Linked DNA regions of Homo sapiens: region 1 is linked to region 2. The links are contacts of gene promoters, found by promoter capture Hi-C in human tissues and cell types (Jung and others, 2019). All regions are on one chromosome and are shown on one strand. The core of a region is centred on a gene start or on the middle of the fragment in contact, and the rest is flanking DNA. Distances in the headings are between cores, read along the strand shown.

Evidence for each region. The method cuts DNA at HindIII sites, captures the fragments that hold promoters and counts their contacts. A contact is called where the count stands out against the background at its distance.
Region 1: the fragment with the promoter of AP2A2 here is called in contact with the fragment with the promoter of RPLP2 in region 2 in 2 of the 25 tissues and cell types used here (IMR-90 fibroblasts and hippocampus).

What each region holds. Positions count from the first base shown.
Region 1 is chr11:924,466-927,165 of GRCh38, forward strand. It overlaps AP2A2 (adaptor related protein complex 2 subunit alpha 2), which reads left to right and starts at 1,405. Exons shown (of 22, transcript NM_012305.4): 1 at 1,405-1,623. The coding sequence starts at 1,557. RefSeq lists a silencer at 1,217-1,756. The HindIII fragment of the contact is 16,179 bases long and covers 1-2,700 here.
Region 2 is chr11:808,693-811,392 of GRCh38, forward strand. RPLP2 (ribosomal protein lateral stalk subunit P2) reads left to right here and starts at 1,275. Exons shown (of 5, transcript NM_001004.4): 1 at 1,275-1,347; 2 at 1,542-1,665. The coding sequence starts at 1,543. It also overlaps a transcript of PIDD1 not described here. RefSeq lists enhancers at 211-500, 511-610, 761-950, 2,614-2,700 and a silencer at 1,321-1,590. The HindIII fragment of the contact is 1,454 bases long and covers 1,240-2,693 here.

The sequences.
Region 1 (2,700 bases), core at 155-2,654, 120 kb after region 2:
ACTGGGAGAGGATAGGGACTCCGGAGGGGTGTACCGTCCTCCAGGAAGCCCTCTGCTGGGTCGGCTCCGTGCCTCTGTCTTGGGAAGTGATGGACTTGGTTGCCTTATGCTGACTGGGGTCTGTCACAGATCTTGGTTTTCCCCAGGAGTTCTGGAGGCCCAGAGCCTGGGTGCGGCACCCGGTTCATTGGGGAGGGGCATGGGTCCTGTGCCCTCCTCCTGGCCGGGCTCCACCAGGGCTAAGCTCTCATCTGGGGCTGCGGAAGTGAGCCAGGGTGGGGACAAAGCCCTGGCTGGTGGGTCTGGGCCAGTTCCAGGTACAGGGTCCAGATCCCCCCACTGCAGCAGGAGGGAGCTTCCTGTTCAAAGCCATCTGGCTCTGGGAAGGACAGTGAGGCAGGGCCATCTGCTTCCCCACTCCCTGGGGTCTCTTCCTGGCCGGGACCTGGAGCTGTGCAGCCTGGCCCAGCAGGTCCTCCCTTGCGATGTGTCCACAGGGGTGGGCCTAGGCCTCCAGCTTGCAGTGGTGCAGAGGGCTGGGGAGCAGAGGGGGCCCTGGCAACAGTGGCCAAAAGTCCTGGCGCCGCCGAGGGACTAGATTCCGCAGGGGCTGCCGCCCCCGGCCGCTGTCACTGGGGTGGGGTGGGTGGTTGTTTCTCTGCAGGCCCAGGTGATGTGGAGGGGGCACCTGGGCTGCCACACAGACCCTGGGCTGGGTCGGGCACGGGGCCTGCCTCGCCCCCAGCTCAGGGACCGCAAGAGATGTGGCCCTGGCGGCTCAGGGCGGCAGGAGGGGCGGGCCAGCCCCACCGTCTCAGGATACCGTGCTAGGGGAGGGTTTCCTCGCCAAAGGCCGTCCAGCGGCTGTGACCCCTTCGCCTGGAGCCCCAGCTTCCTCCCGGCGCCGCCCTCCCGCCCCGGCCCCCGCGGAACAAACAAGGCCCTGGCCTCGGAGCTGCCCCGCCGCCCAGCGCTCACAGGTCGTTTATTCCAAGTAAGAAAACGGAGACTGCTCGGGGCAAGCTAGCGGGGCCGAGGCCCAGGACGAGGCCGTACGCGTGTGCCTGCGTGGCCGCCTCTTTTGCAGTGACCACCAACAACGACAGAGGCGGCCCGCTGCACACGCGGGTTCCCGCCCGGACCCACGCCCTTCCCGTGGGGGACGCGGGCGGCATCGCCAGCTTGGCGCGGCCCCGGGACGCGAACGCGTGGCTTCAGCGGCTCCGTCCATGGTGTCCGCCTGCAGGGGGCGCCCCCGCGCCTGCCTCGACCGGCTCGCCCCCGTGCCGCGGACGCGCGCGCGCTGCCTCACGCGACACCCGCCCCGGCCGCCGTCCGTCGTCGCTCGCGTGCGTGCGCGTGCGTGCTGGTGCGGGCGCCGTACGTGCGCGCGCGCGGCGGCCCAGAAAGCGGCGCTGGGACCCTGAGGCGGCCGTGGTTAGGCGGCTCCCCGGCGGCTCCTCCGCGGCGGTGACGGCGACCGCACTCCCCGCTTCCCGCTCCCCGCGCTCCTCCGCCCGGGTCCGCCAGCCGAGGCCGCTCCCGAGCGTCGGAAGATGCCGGCCGTGTCCAAGGGGGACGGGATGCGGGGCCTGGCGGTCTTCATCTCGGATATCCGCAACTGTGAGTGGCGGGGGCGGCGTGGGGCCGGGGCCGGGGCCGCCGGCGGAGACGGGGTCTGGGAGCGGAGGCCCGGGGCGGGGCCTCGAGGCGGGGGTGCAGGCTGGGATGCGGGCGGGGCCCGGGGCCTGAGGGTGCGGGCGGCGCTCGGGGTCTTGGGGTACCGGGTCTGGGGGTGGGGGCCAGGGTGCGGGGTGGGGGTCCAGGGTCTGGGGGTGCGGGCGGCGCTCAGAGTCTTGGGGTATCGGGTATGGGGGTGCGGGTCAGGATGCAGAGCGGGGCCCTGGGTCTGGGGGTGCGGGGTGGGGTGTCCAGGGTCTAGGGGTGCGGGGTCTAGGGGTTTAGGGCACGGCCCTTCATCCACATCTCCACTCCCGTTTGCTGGTCCGTGCGGGGGGCTGCGGCACCACCAAGGGGGTTCCGGGCCAAGACGCCCCTCCCCAGCATGATGTCACCTTGGTCTTTCTAGTACTGGAGCGTTTAACCCAGCGTTTTCCAAAACGGCGTGGATTTTAGCTTTGGGAGCAGAAATCTGGAAATCAGTGTCTTCCCAGGAAACAGCTTTGTGACCTGGGTTCTGGAGGCTTATTAACCCCTGATTAGATCTCACCTACGACGATTAAAATGACTCATTCCCGGAGGGAATCTGGACACGAGCAGCAGTCGGGGTGTGGGATGGCCTCGCTGCCTGCTGCTCCAATCACAGACCTCGTTCTCAGCCCCGTGCCTGTCCCCTCGGGGTGGGAAAAATCCACACCAAACCGTTAAACAAGCCAGGAAGGCTGGGCCTGTTAGAAGGATGTGCAGGGTGGCTGGGTGGGTGCACCGGTCCACCAATTAATTTGACTTTGGTGTGCAGAACCTCCTCTTGGCTTTCAGAGGCCATCTCCTTATTTAATTTGAGGGAGAAACAAAGCCAGTTTCCTGTCTGCTGCGTTGATTTTTTTCCTTGTTATCCAGCAAATAGTTGACTTCATGATTTTTGTTTTTCTTTTTTTTGAGACAGGGTCTTGCTCTGGCTCTCAGGCTGGAGCGCAGTAGTTCCATCACGGCGCACTCAACCTCCCACCTCAAGTGATC
Region 2 (2,700 bases), core at 25-2,524:
CTCAAAAATTACAAAATAAGAAAAGTCCCATTGTTCCCAAGATGGTTTCCCGCCTTTACCCCAGATGTGTGACCCTGAGCAAAAAAACCTTTCTGTACCCAACTGCCTCATCTATAAAATGGGGGTAATGATAACGAGGCCACAGAAGGCGACTGTGAAGTCGAGTTCCAGTGCTTGACGTATACACACCCCAGGGTTTGCACTGCTGTTAGAGCCCAACGGGAGCTGGCGCTGCCTGCTAACACGGTAGATACCTGCATCTGACCCTGTTCCTGGTGCTCGCCCGGGATATTGGCAGGGATGGCTCCTTCTCATCTCTCAGCTCAAGCTTTCTCAGGCTGCCCAGAGGACCAAGTCTCCCTCTGTCCCTGTCCTTCGGATCGCCTCCCTATTCACCTCCTGCGTCCTCGCACAAGAACTCAAGTCCTTAGGAGGCAGGGCCAACCCTGTTCCCTCCCAGGACCCGAGAATGTAGCGGGGTCCCTGAGGTGCTGATGTCCACATGGACACCGAGGTCAGTTCCGGGCCAAAGCGGCCAGCGCAGGGGCTGACCACTCAGACCTCACTCCTCGCAGGGGTGAGCGGGCGACGCTGCCTCACGTCATTGTCCTGCCCTCCAAGGCCCGCGCTCGTCCTCTGACAGGATGCCCTGACACCGCAGTGCGGGGGCGGCCTCCCAGATAGGGCCGCAGTCGCTAAGTCCGAGGCGGCTGGCTCACCTCACTGAGCCCGGCTGGACGTGGGACCACCGGTCGCCGCGGCCAGGGAACCACCAAGGAGTCAAGGCGAGCCTACCGCCAGCAGCTTCTGCCCGGGCCCACGCGCCGTTCCGGGTAGGCCCGCGGCGCAGGCCACTTCCGGCAGCGGTGCACCATGGGACTTGCAGTTCGCTGGCAAAGGTTGAGTCCCGGGCGTGGCGGCCGCGCTCCATGTTGGGAGCTGTAGGCGCCGCGTGGCATGCTGGGGGTGCTAGGTACCGAAGGCAGATGCCGTCCCTTTGGACTCGCTTCGTCCAACGCCCCCACGAGTTTCGGTGGCCCTTCGCCCCACGCTATAAGAGCAGTCACTTCCGGAACTGCTGCCCTTCGCCTTTGCCGCGAAAAGTGCCTGACGGGGGCTGGGAAGGGGGAGGGGGAAGGAGTCAACGACTCCCTCCCCGTCGTCATTGGCTGAGCGCCTCGTGACGTCACTCTGAGGCGCCTCATGCGGCGCCGCGCACGGGTCCCAGAGCCTTCTGGGTAGCGGTTTAACCCCGCCTCTTGCGTCGGCGCCTTCCTTTTCCTCCCTGTCGCCACCGAGGTCGCACGCGTGAGACTTCTCCGCCGCCTCCGCCGCAGACGCCGCCGCGTGAGTGTGGTGACCGGGCCCGGGGTGCCGGCTGGGGACGCGGAGTCCGTGGGGATGCGGGGTGGGCGGCGGGGTATTTTTGGGACGGAGGCCTACGGGCCGAGCCACGCGCGGCCTCGCCCGGCGGCCCCGGGATGGGCCGGCAGGAGGCCGCCGGGGTAACTCCGCCGTCGCGTCCTCTCCGCCCGCCTCAGGATGCGCTACGTCGCCTCCTACCTGCTGGCTGCCCTAGGGGGCAACTCCTCCCCCAGCGCCAAGGACATCAAGAAGATCTTGGACAGCGTGGGTATCGAGGCGGACGACGACCGGCTCAACAAGGTAGCGGCCGCCCTTGCCCCGCAGCCGCCGTGGGGCCCCAGTGTCCCATACAGGCGATTCTTCTGCCTGATCCGGCCACATGCTGGAGGGTTCGGGGAGAGGCTCGTTTCAGTCTAGTTGGCGATTTCTTGGATAGAGAAGTAAGCCGGGCGGAGGTCGGGCGCGGTGGCTCACGCCTGTAGTCCCAGTACTTTGGGAGGACGAGGCAGGCGGATCACCTGAGGTCAGGGGTTCGAGACCAGCCTGGTAAACATGTCGAAACCCCATCCCTACTAAAAATACAAAAATTAGCCGGGCGTGGTGGTGGGTGCCTGTAGTCCCCCTACTTGGGAGGCTGAGGCAGGAAAATCGCTCGAACCCGGGAGATGGAGGTTGCACGGATCGTGCCACTGTACTCCAGTCTGGGTGGCAGAAGGAGACCCTGTCTCAAAAGGAAAAAAAAAAAAAAAAGCAGGGTGGGTACGAGGCAAAATCGTGATTAACAAGCTTTGGAAGTTTAATACCAGTGAGCTGCGTAAGATTGCGTTAAAAAAAAAAAAAAGCAGTCCTGGCGCATGGCTCACCCGGCTTTGGGAGGCCATGGCGAGTGGATTATTGGAGCCTTGAAGTTCGAGACTGGTCTGGAAAACATTGCAAGACCCGGTCTCCACAAAAAAAAAAAAAAAAAAAAATGGTTGGAGGCAGTGGTGCACATCTGTAGTCTCAGCTACTCATGAGGCTGATGCGGGAGAATCATTTGAGCCTTAGAGGTCAAGGCTGCACTGAGTAGTGATTGTGCCACTGCAGTCTAACAGAACCAGGCCTCGTCTCTAAAATACAATAAAAAATTAGCCAGGCTTGGTTGCTCATGCCTGTAGTCCCAGACTGAGGTGGGATAGTCACTTGAGCCCGGGAGGTCAAGGCTGCAGTGAGATCCTACCACTGCACTCCAGCCTGAAGTCAAAGTCAATTTCATTGCCAGTTTATTTTGCCAGTGTTGAAGATACCTATGAGTAGTCAACATAAGTAGTGAGATGCCCTGTGTCCTTTTGTCAG